Linked DNA regions of Homo sapiens: all the other regions are linked to region 1. The links are contacts of gene promoters, found by promoter capture Hi-C in human tissues and cell types (Jung and others, 2019). All regions are on one chromosome and are shown on one strand. The core of a region is centred on a gene start or on the middle of the fragment in contact, and the rest is flanking DNA. Distances in the headings are between cores, read along the strand shown. Region 1 holds the start of MRPL38 (mitochondrial ribosomal protein L38). Region 2 overlaps RNF157 (ring finger protein 157). Region 3 overlaps SAP30BP (SAP30 binding protein). Region 4 overlaps SRP68 (signal recognition particle 68).

Evidence for each region. Contacts are between HindIII fragments. The study calls those that stand out against the background at their distance.
Region 2: a contact is called between a fragment that was not itself captured here and the fragment with the promoter of MRPL38 in region 1, in 1 of the 25 tissues and cell types used here (dorsolateral prefrontal cortex).
Region 3: a contact is called between a fragment that was not itself captured here and the fragment with the promoter of MRPL38 in region 1, in 3 of the 25 tissues and cell types used here (aorta, dorsolateral prefrontal cortex and heart right ventricle).
Region 4: a contact is called between a fragment that was not itself captured here and the fragment with the promoter of MRPL38 in region 1, in 3 of the 25 tissues and cell types used here (dorsolateral prefrontal cortex, lymphoblastoid cells and spleen).

What each region holds. Positions count from the first base shown.
Region 1 is chr17:75,903,474-75,906,380 of GRCh38, forward strand. MRPL38 (mitochondrial ribosomal protein L38) reads right to left here and starts at 1,411. Exons shown (of 9, transcript NM_032478.4): 1 at 1,336-1,411; 2 at 1,067-1,246. The coding sequence starts at 1,402. RefSeq lists silencers at 1,207-1,256, 1,277-1,326, 1,337-1,816. The HindIII fragment of the contact is 5,940 bases long and covers 1,082-2,907 here.
Region 2 is chr17:76,157,842-76,160,748 of GRCh38, forward strand. It overlaps RNF157 (ring finger protein 157), which reads right to left. Exons shown (of 19, transcript NM_052916.3): 12 at 1,494-1,732; 13 at 552-660. Among named protein-coding and RNA genes, the nearest start is that of FOXJ1, 18 kb to the left of the region's middle. The HindIII fragment of the contact is 3,147 bases long and covers 1-2,907 here.
Region 3 is chr17:75,672,424-75,675,330 of GRCh38, forward strand. All of the region lies in intron 3 of SAP30BP (SAP30 binding protein), which reads left to right. Among named protein-coding and RNA genes, the nearest start is that of SAP30BP, 6.5 kb to the left of the region's middle. The HindIII fragment of the contact is 5,826 bases long and covers 1-2,907 here.
Region 4 is chr17:76,056,071-76,058,977 of GRCh38, forward strand. SRP68 (signal recognition particle 68) reads right to left here. Exons shown (of 16, transcript NM_014230.4): 8 at 1,333-1,473. Among named protein-coding and RNA genes, the nearest start is that of SRP68, 15 kb to the right of the region's middle. The HindIII fragment of the contact is 5,888 bases long and covers 1-2,907 here.

The DNA of each region.
Region 1 (2,907 bases), core at 161-2,660:
AAAATGCCAATGAATTGCCTCTTTTAATCCTCACAGCAATTTTGTAGCAAAGACACAATTATTTTATTTTACAGTTGAAACAAGCTCAAGGACATTATCCGAGAGGCTGAGCTAGGATTTAAATCGGGCTATTTAGATTCCACGCTTGTGCCTTTAACCACCACAAAACTGCCTCTATAAATGCTAAAGAAAAGAAAAGAAAAGAAAAGCATATACTCCATAAATTGTAAGTTCCTTAAAGGTTGGGGTCTTTTTTTTTTTTTCTTTTTGAGACGGAGTTTCGCTCTTGTTGCCCAGGCTGGTGTGCAATGGCGCGATCTCGGCTCACCGCAACCTCTGCCTCCTGGGTTCAAGCGATTCTCCTGCCTCAGAGGCCTCCCGAGTAGCTGGGATTACAGGCATGCGACACCACGCCCAGTTAATTTTGTATTTTTAGCAGACACGGGGTTTCTCCATGTTGGTCAGGCTGGTCTCGAACTCCCGACCTCAGGTGATCCGCCCGCCTAGGCCTCCCAAAGTGCTGGGATTACAGGCGTGAGCCACCGCGCCCGGCCAGGTTGGGTTCTTTTTTGAGTCACCCTGCCCAGGCCTTTAATTTCATTCAGCAAAGTATTGCACATGTACATCCTTGCACTGTTCGGGTGCAAGGATCCAATGGAGGGCAAGACAAGCAGGATCCCTGTCAACAGGGCGCTTACAATCTGGGGAGAGGCAGCGCACAGTCAGAATGCAGTGTGGCCAGAGTTACCTACAGAGTATTTGAGGCGCACAGAACGGCATCCCAATCCGGAAAGTCAGGTGGTCAAGATTTTAGGAGCAAATATTTTAGGAGCTGGAACTCTAATAGTAGGGGGAGCGAATTTTCCAAGAATGAGGTGCAGAAGGTGTGAAAAATCCTGGGGTGATTAAGCTGCCGATAGCGCACACAGGTCTGCAGGCAGGCCCTCCCAGCGTCCCCAGCATCCACAAGGGCGCCGGCAAGGCTCGCCCAGCGCCCGGGGAAAACGCCGGCGGGTCCCGAGTTCCCCGGGCGGTGGCTGCAGCCCCTGCTCCAGTCGCCCCGCACCTGTCTTCTCCCCGAAATACTCTCGGTAGGTCCGCCACCAGTGCGGGGCCTGCGCCTCCTGCTCTGCTCGGCGCCGGTAGCGGTCGAAGCTCCGGTACTTCTCCAGCCGCTCCAGGTTGCTCAAGTCGATGTCACTGTTGGGCATCGGCCCCAGCGGGGGTGTCCGGCGGCCCAGGACGGCTGCGGGCAGAGAGAAGACGTAAGGCCGGCGCCCCACAGCTCGGGCGACAGCCCCCCCCCCCCCCCCCGCAGAGCTGCCCACCCCTCACCCGAGGTGCTGAAGCCCCGCCATCTCCGACACTCGCACAGCGCGGCTCGCCACCAGGGCGCCGCCATCTTCCCTCCGGCCTGCGACACTGCGGCCGCCACTAGGACCCGGGCACAGGTGGCCAGCGCGGTGCCTGAGCGCACCACAGCAGGCCCCGCCCCTAGGCCCGCCCCCGGGCCCGCGCTGCGGAGCAGGCCTCAGACGCCTGTCCCGGAGGCCCCTGCACCGTCTGCCTCGGGCGCAGGTGGAAGGTGGCCGCGGTCTGTAGACGCCCGGCTCCGGAAGTGCCCGTTGGACGGCGGGGCGGAGCCGAGAGCAGTCATATGCTCGCCCATGGCTGGCCACCAGGGGGCGGCACAGACCGGGGTCGGCCGCCGGGGCCCTCCTCCAACCCCTGGACGCTGCGTCCTGATTTCCCCAGGGACGCAGGCCTGGTTGGGAGAAGGGGTGCGAGCTCCGATTCCGGACTCTGCTTGGGTTTAAAACCCAGATTGAGGGCTGGGCGCGGTGGCTCACGCCGGGAATCCCAGCACTTTGGGAGGCCAAGGCGGGTGGATCACGAAGTCAGGAGATCGAGACCATCCTGGCCAACACGGTGAAAACCCGTCTCTACTCAAAATACAAAAATTAGCCGGGCGTGGCATACGCCTGTAATCCCAGCTACTCGGGAGGCTGAGGGAGGAGACTCGCTTGAACCTGGGAGGCAGAGGCGGAGGCTGCAGTGAGCCGAGATCGCGCCACTGCACTCCAGCATGGGCGACAAAAGTGAAAACTCTATTTCAATAATAATAATAATAATAAAATAATAGTAATAAAAACCCAGATTGTGGCTGGGCGCGGTGGCTCATACCTGTAATCCCAGCACTTTGGGAGGCCGAGGTGGGCGGATCATCTGAGGTAATTAGTTTGAGACCAGCCCTACGAACATGGCAAAACCCTAAAGATACAAAAATTTTTGTATCTCTACTAATGATACAAAAATTAGCCGGGCGTGGTGGCAGGCGCCTGTAATCCCAGCTACTCAGGAGGCTATGGCACAAGAATTAACTTGAACCCGGGAGGCAGAAGCTGCAGTGAGACGAGATTGCGCCACCACCTCGGTGCCAGAGTGAGACACCGTCTCAAAATGCCCCTCCCCCCCCCCAAAAAAAAACCAGATCGTGACCTTACTGTCTTCCTTGTGGTTTCCTCATTTGGGAAAAAGCAGGTTAACACTAGTGCTTACCTGACAGCTGTCAGGATGAAAAGATTACCCTCTGGAAAGCGCTCGCAGTGGTTTGTGTGTTAGCTCAACTATCTCCAACTTCTCATTATCCACACAAAGGCAGAAGTGACCTGGTTAAGTGCAGATGTGAATGTTTCTGGCAGGACTCAGGCTTGCCCTTGTGATCCAGTTCTACCATGGCAAAACTTGGTAGCCTGGGGAATCTGGGACCCTCCTTTGCCCCAGCCCTGGCCCTCCTGCCCTAAAAGGCAAGACTTTTCCATCGCACTTTGCCTCCAGGCCACGGGGCCTTTGTATACGCTGTGTCTTCTGCCTCTCACCTCCTCACTGCCCCACCTTGGCCTGGCC
Region 2 (2,907 bases), core at 259-2,758, 250 kb after region 1:
TCCAGCCTTCTCTTCCATTCTTCCACATGGGCCTCCCGACACCCCCCACTTACCCCCAGGACTTTCTCCTTGCTGTTCCCAGACCTAGGGCCCTCTCTCCTCGTATATCTGCATAGCTAGCTCTACCACTTCCCTTGGTCTTGGCTCCTGGACCGCTTTTTAAGAATGGCAGCCCCCACTTCCAGCCGTGACACTCCCTTCCCACATGTCACACATGCTGATCCACAGCACCATCAGGCACACATGTATTTTTTTACCTATTGTCTTTTGTGCCCCCCACCCCAGATAGCAAGAATATAAATGCTACAAGGGCAGGGACTTTTGTAGTGTCCCAGCTACTATCCTCAGCATATAGCACAGTGCCTGGCAAATAATACAGGCTGCATACACTGTTGAATGCATGAATCCAGTGAAACCTTTGCCACTGCCTCAGAGGGTGCTGACAAGGTGTTTGATGAGTGAATGAGAGCAGAGGGACCTGATGAGGCATGCAGGTAGGAGGGAAGTCCCTGGAGTACAACACCCAAGAAGAGGAGAGGAATGTCAATTACCTCTCCGAGATGCTGAACCGACGGTCTCTGAGAGAGCTGTGTCTCCGACTCGCTGCAGGAATGCTCATCTTCCTCTTCATGCAGCACGGAAGAGTTTTGGGAAGTGGATCTGTAGGAGTCCAGTGGAAAAGCAGCTATATCCAACGTCCATTTAAAGAACAGAACTTACTGCAAGGGGAGCTGAGGGGAAAACCCAAATATTTTTTGCTTGTTTATTTTTTGAGACAGCATCTCATTATGTTTCCCAGGCTGGGCTGGGACTCCTGGGCTTCAGCGATCCTCTTGTTGACGCTTTAACAGAGGAGGAGTACAGCCTCCTGAGTAGCCGAGTAGGTCTGGGCTAACTTGCCTGGCTCGAAACCCAAATCTTAAGTAGGACTAGGGAAATAGAACCAGAGAGGGATGGAGACCTCTTTTGGGTGTCAGAAGCGCTAAGTTTTACTTTTAGCTCCTCTGATGACTTGCTATCTAAACTTGGGAAAAACCACTGCCATTTACAGGGTCTCAATATTTTCATCTGTAAAATACCCTCCCCTTTACTCTGCCACAGAAACCTTGTCATGATTTGTGCCTAGCTGGATTTAGATGTTTAAGAGATACGGATCACAAGGTTCCTTCAGTCTTCGGACTAAGCAATGCTCCCAGGGGCCTAGAAGGCCCTATCCACAGTGTTCAACATCCTCTTCCCTATATCCCATCCCCTATCCTTGAAAGAAAAAAAGAATACATAAGAGATTTGTCTCATCAGAGTTTTCTTAAGTACCTACATACCATCTTATTTTCATCTCTTAATGGATGGGATAACCTTCACGCAAGCAGCTCTGGGAACAGCCCAGAGGGTTACTCTGCCCTAAGTCCCCAGGATGTGGGCCAGCACCAAGGAGGGATGAAGCATTTCATCAAGGATTCCGGGGGCAACAGTGTGGAGCACTGGCTACTCACTTGGAGAGACTCTTTTTGAGTTTGAGTCCCTGACTGCTGCTGTCAGACAGGCGGTCAAGAGGCGAGATCGTCCTGACGGGGGGCAGGTGGCCATCACTGCCATATGAAGGGAGCATTCCTGAGAGGTGGCCATCTCCAAGCACGTGAAGTGGAGGAACTGCTGGGGACGGGGTGAGGGGCCCGTTGAGGGCCTCCAGAAGAGATACTACTTCATAGCCTGGTGGAATATTCTCTGAGGACTAGGGGAATCAGAGACAGGTTGAAAAATTAATTAGGTCCTTTTTGTTTTATGACGTGATCATGCTACTTCTCTACACTGAAAAAAATGTTTTATATCTGTTCTTGGGGGGGTCTGGTAAGAACAACTGTACTAGAGGCAGAGATAAAATATCAAAGAATCACACACTGTAGATCCTGCTTATTGGTAAGCTTTTTCTTAATAATCTCTATTTTTTTTCTGATTATAATGGAAATTTGGAAAATACATAAAAGTAAAAGTAAGGAAAAAAAATCACCAGTAATCAAATCACCCAAAGTTACTTTTGTTAGCATTCTGGTGTCTCTTCTTCCCATTTTTTTTCTGTGTACTATTTACACAGTTTTGATCAATCTGTAAATAACAATTTTATATTCTGCTTATTTTATTATACTTTCCTCTTTAAAAAAATAGAGATGGGATCTCACTATGTTGCCCAGGCTGGTCTTGAGCTCCTGGTCTCAATTGATCCTCCCACCATGGCCTCCCAAAGTGCTAGGATTACAGATGTAAGCCACCATGCCTGGCCAGAACATAAATATTTTCCTTTGTTTCTGAAGCCTCTTTATATATGTCCCCTTCTCATAGATCCCCTAAGTTTTCTAACTATTCTCCTAGTGCTGGGAATCTAGTTGTGTCTAACACATCCTATTGTAAACAAGTTTTGATGAACATCCTTGAATGCCTTTTTTTCAAATTATGTTCTTGTTATTAAATTATTAGCTCTTAGATGATGAGGTATAAATGTTTTTAAGGCCTTGATATATACTGCTGTTTTCTGCTGTTTTTTTTTTCAGTGCCTTTTCTAGTTACACTCCTATAAGTAATACAGAAGACCTATTCTGACTGCTTCCCCGAAAGCAGGGAGAATCGCTAAAAAGAAAAGTTTTTAAAATTTGAAAGTTGGAAAATGGTATTCTCATATTTGCATATCATTGATTTTTAATGTGGTTGAACTTTTTAAAAAATTCTATGTTGAGTGTGTTTTGTTTATGCCCTTTGCCCTTTTATCTACTGTTTTATTCAATATGAACTATGGCAAAGACATTAGCTTTTCCTCTGATACACACATTGTAAATAGTTTTTAAAAAAACACTATTTGTTGTCTAACTTTTAATTTTGGTTACCTTTTAGACCTCTGAAGTGCTAAACTTTTTA
Region 3 (2,907 bases), core at 296-2,795, 230 kb before region 1:
TCCTAGTAGCAGCCAAGAGTAATTTGTAGCAATTCCTATCACATTCCATAATGATCTGTTGTGAAGGTTAAGACACCCTTGTGTTGGTTAAGCTGCTGTGCTGTGCATTGGCCATTAGAAATGTGTACTTGCTGAAGAGTCATTTTTTATGAGGAAAAACTTCCCCCCTGTACCCCCAAAGAAAAAGACTTAATTATATCACTCTAGACCCGGGGAATAAGGACCCATTTTGCAGTTAAAAACTGCTTTGAGGCCAGCCGCAGTAGCTCACGCCTGTAATCCCAGCACTTTGGGAGGCTGAGGCGGGAGGATCACTTGAGGTCAGGAGTTCAAGACCAGCCTGGCCAGTATGGTGAAACCCCGTCTCTACTAAAAATACAAAAATTAACTGGTGAGACTGGTGGGTGGTGCACACCTGTGATCCCAGCTACTGGGGAAGCTGAGGCAGGGGAATTACTTGAACCTGGGAGGCAGAGGTTGCAGTGAGCCATGATCTGCCAATGCACTCCAACCTGGGCAACAGAATGAGAATCTGTCTCAAAAAAAAAAACAAAAAAAAACTGCTTGGAAACCAGCTGTAACTTTCAAGATGACCTAGTAAAATTTAGGAAATTTATGCCCAATTAAAATCTAAAACAGTAATATTCTTGAAAATATAGTGTGAGCTGTTCCATATTTGAGCTGATTCTGTGATTGGATAGAACTGTATGTAGCCACTAAAATCTTGAGACGTTGTGAGTGAGAAAGATAAGAGTGTGTTTTACCAGGAAAGAAAGTTTTGGCGCCAGCATGCAGGAGGGAAAAAAAAGAACCCCTGAAAACTGTAAATGCAACCTGCTTTCTATGCTGAGTGAAAAACCTGGAACCCAGGCCTGAGAACTCGCCCTGCCTGAGAACTGGCAAGATGGTATGGGCAGACCCATGGCCCCATAGTTCAAAGTCAGTCACAGCTCTCCTCGGGCTTGCAGAACAAAACACTCAGTAGTGATAATCTTCTCTGCCTAGTATTTAGGGTATGTGGGACTTGGAGCCTGCACGTAAAACAAGCCCAGGGAGCCGTTAAGTGTTTGGGTTTCAGTTGTGGAGGGAAGGGAGGATCTGGGTCCTAGAGTCTTTCTGGGTACAGTTGCAGCCTTTTCTTAGGGCTGGAAGGCTTCCTGGGGAAGTTGGCTGGAGAGGAGGGTACATAACACTTAACGGTCACCCCTTCTAAAATACTGTAATCCAGGCAACAAATCCTTGGGAGATGACAGGGCTTTGTGAGTCAGGGTGGGGGTCACATGAAAAACAAAACAGACTTTACTGCTGTCCAGTAGCAGTCACTAAAGAGCGGGGTGGGAGGGACCCAAAAAAGGTGAAGCTGGGAAGATTGTGGAAATGCCTTTTGTGCTCAGGCTCCCCTTCTCAGCCCTACATCACGGCTGACAGCCTCGTCATTCCTGCCTGCTCCTTGACTGATGTGCTTCGCTGTTCCTCATTCACTCATGTGCATTTCAAGTTTTACTGTGGAATGAAAAGTTTTCATGGAATAATTTCTGTTCCTCTTGAGGAGCCCTCAGAAATCAGAACACAAAATCCAACCCTCAAAGTCACTTGATATAGTTCTTTTGGAGGGTGATGGAGAAGGGTTTAGATAAAGCTTGCCAGCTTCAATGTTCTGCAATCCCCAGTGGCTGCCAGGCCTTTAGGAGTCCTCGTGGCATCTCCAAGGACTACAAATGATCCCCAGCATGAGTCTTCTGTGATACTCTTATCTTAGTCCTGGCCCTGTCATCCTTCTGCTTGAGCTGGCCTCAGACTCTCTTCCACATAGCAACATGTACCTCAAATCCAGAACTTTCTGGCACATTTACATTTTATTTTTATTTATTTATTTTATTTATTTTTTTGAGACAGAGTCTTGCTCTGTCGCTCAGGCTGGAGTGCAGTGCTGTGATCTCGGCTCAGTGCAACCTCCGCCTCCTGGGTTCAAGCGATTCTCCTGTCTCAGTTTCCCGAGTAGCTGGGATTACAGGTGTGAGCCACCATGCCCAGCTAATTTTTTGTATTTTTAATAGAGACAGGGTTTCACCATGTTGGCCAGGCTGGTCTTGAACTCATGGCCTCAAGTGATAGGCCCGCCTCTGCCTCCCAAAGTGCTGGGATTACAGGCATAAGCCACTGTGCCCAGCCCACATTTTTTTAAATTGATGTGTAACAATATTTTTTATATTCAAAACCCTTAATTTTGGACATTCTGCTTTAAGCATATGAAGTTTTTTTGTTTGTTTTTTGTTTTTTTTTTTTTTTTTTTTTTTTTTTTGAGGTGGAGTCTCCTCTGTCGCCTGGAGTGCAGTGGTGCCATCATAACTTACTGCAGCCACAACCTCCCTGGCTCAATTAATCCTCCCACCTCAGCCTCCCAAACAGCTGGGACTACAGGTGTGTGCATCACACCTAGCAATTTTTTTTAATTTTTTTGTAGAGGAAAGGTTTTGCCATATTGCCCCGGCTGGTCTTGAACTCCTGGGCTCAAGTAATCTGCCCACATTGGCTTCCCAAAGGGCTGGGATTAGAGCTGTGAGCCACCAGGCCCAGTGCACATGAACATAGGAAGTTTCTAACAATAGAATATGTTACAAGTGTGGATCTTTGTTAGAAGTGTTGTTTAACAATTAGATTACTGTCATAATTGTCATCTCCACTAGGTGGCATTCTCCTTTCTACTTTGGTTTTTTGTTGTTTTTTTGTTTTGTTTTGTTTTTGAGTAGGAGTTTCGCTCTTGTTGCCCAAGCTGGAGTGCAATGGCGCAATCTCAGCTCACTGCAACCTCTGCCTCCCGCATTCAAGCCATTCTCCTGCCTCAGCCTCCCGAGTAGCTGGGATTACAGGCACATGCCATGTCGCCCAGCTAATTTTTGTATTTTT
Region 4 (2,907 bases), core at 198-2,697, 150 kb after region 1:
TCAAAGCACTAGGATTATAGCCATGAGCCACCGTGCCAGCAGTAACTTTTCAAAATTACTTAATAAATGCTAGCTTTTCCTGTTCTTCATTTGGTACGTGTCTGTAGCCCCACTCTGAAAGAGCCCTCATTTAACTTGCCCCTATGGATCTCTCTCCCCCAACTCCTCTTCAAGTCAGAATTCCTGCCCCACTGTCTCTGCTGTCTGGCACTGAACTGAGGACAGAAGTAGTTTCTTTCTTCCAGCATTGATCACTTTTAAAACCAAAGCACTAACCCAATCACATAATCTGAATAGTTGCTACCAGAGCCGTTGTCCAGTGGAGGTAGCACCATACAACAGTGCCAATAGAATGCTCTCAAAAAAAGTTCCTTAGCCTTTCAGTTTAAGCAAAAATTAACTTTCTAGTACTGTTCTAGTCTTCTGTCCTTTAAGCAAATAAAAGGGATATGAGACAGGCAATACGAAACACAGACAAGGACACACATCAACTCTTCAGCTGTTGAAGGCTGCCTCCAACCCATAGTAGCCATTCTGGAGCAAGTTGCTGAAATTTTAGATGCTTAAGCCAATTCCTCAACACATTAACAAAACACCACCCCACCAACCCATACACAAATTATTCAGGGTGCAAAAGATAACTGTGAGGTCTTCGGAAATGCCACTGTTCCCTGATGAGGCAGTAGACTGTCAGCAGCCTGTTTTTTTAAAGATGTCCTTTAACTCATGTGGAAAAGAAGCTCTAAAAAGTGCCCCCATCACTGTCTATGTCATACAAAGGTCACCAGGATGTCTTATCTTTTAGGACGCATTTGGTTGTTTGTACCCACCAATAGGTAACTATGTCAGTAGGCAGTATCAAGTGATAACAGTTTTGCATGAATATTACATGTACACCGCACACAAAACAAGACATTCTGGTTTAACCAGGCTATCCTGCAAAGCCCCAGGACTAAGAGGTGAACCCTTTAGGGCTAGGAGGTTACGACAACATGTCAGAGAAACTTCAGAGACATAATAGTTAAGCTGCTGCACCACCTGCTGGGCCAAATGTGACCCCTTACTTTAAGCCAGCCTCTAATGCCTCCCATTTTTATGTTGATGACTGTTGCTGTCAATTTCTTTGCCCTCTAAACATTAAGAATTCCTCTATAAACTCAGTTTTCAAAATAATTTTATTCAATAAGGCACATCTCCGTACTTACCAAATCCAAAACAGCATTAAAAGTTTGTTTTATGAGAACTGAATACCAACGAGCCACTACATCTTAAACACACAGGACAACCTTCAGACACATACAGAAGACAGCACAGTAAGTTCTTCCTCCTCACCTGGACAATAGCTGCTTCGTTATCAGCCAGTCCTAATAAGAAAATGCGCACTTTGTCAATCTTCACTGGAACCGTTCTCCCTCTCCACTCCACTTCACTCATGGTAGCTGCCTGTTTGGCTCGAGTCTGAGTGATCAAAGCCTGAAAAATAGTTTAAAAAAGTTAAAGCTTTAACTGGGGATATGAGTGATGGAGGTGAAAATAAGTGGAATCTATCATTTGTCTCTTTGTATAACCAACATATTATACTCCATAGAAAGTAGAGTATACACCAATTTCTTTCATTTTTTTTGAGACAGTCTTGCTCTGTCACCCAGGCTGGAGTGCAGTGGCGCTATCTAGGCTCACTGCAACCTCTGCTTCCCAGGTTCAAGGAATTCTTGTGCCTTAGCCTCCTGAGAAGCTAGAACTACAGGCACATGCCACCATGCCCGACTAATTTTTGTATTTTTAGTAGAGACGAGGTTTCACCACGTTGGCCAGACTGGTCTCAAACTCCTGGCCTCAAGTGATCCACTTGCCTCAGCCTCCCAAAGTGCTGGGATTACAAGCATGAGCCACTGTGCCAGGCCTCTTTAATTTTTTTAGTAGACAGGGTCTTGCTCTGTTGCCCAGGCTGGAGTGCAGTGGCCTAATGACAGCTTACTGCAACCTCCAACTCCTGGGCTCAAGTGATCCTTTTGCCTCAGCCTCTCGAGCAGCTAGGACTACAGGTATGTGTCACCATGCCTGGCTAATTTAAGAAAAAAAAAAATTTTTTTTTTTTTTGAGACGGAGTTTTGCTCTTGTTGCCCAGGCTGGAATGCAATGGTATGAGCTCAGCTTACTGCAACCTCCACCTCCCAAGTAGCTGGGATTAGAGGCCTGCACCACCACATCCAGCTAATTTTGTATTTTTAGTACAGACGGGGTTTCTCCGTGTTGGTCAGACTGGTCTCGAACTCCTGACCTCAGGTGATCCATTCACCTTGGCCTCCCAAAGTGCTGGGATTACAGACATAAGCCACTGTGCCCAGCCTCTGAAAAAAATTTTTTTTGTAGAGGTGGGGTCTCACTGTGTTGCCCCGGCTGGTCTTGAACTCCTGGGCTCGAGTTATCCTTTCACCTCAGCCTCCCACAGTGCCAGGATTACAGGTGTGAACCACCCTGCTGGCCACCAATTTCTATTTGTTTTAAATTTCTCCCTGGTATCATATATTTTAGCTACAGAAATTCAAATATTAAAAGGACATAGCGGAAGGTTAAAAAGAGTAACACTAAGTTTTGGTAAGGATGTAAGGAGAAAAGCATATCTGTATACGCTACAAGCAGGAATGCTAATCAGTAGAAACTTAAAGACATTTGTCAGTATGTATCAAGTTTCCAAACCATTTAATTCCAGTTTTAGGAATTTATCCTAAGGAAATAATCAAGAATGTGTGCAAAATCTGAGGACATGGACATTCATGGTAATACTGTTTACCACTTAATGAACAATGAATGGTTAAATAAAACAGACTTCTATGCAACGGAGTACCATGCAGCCATCAAAGGATGATGGTGTATGGCTGGATAAGGTGGATCATGCCTGTGATC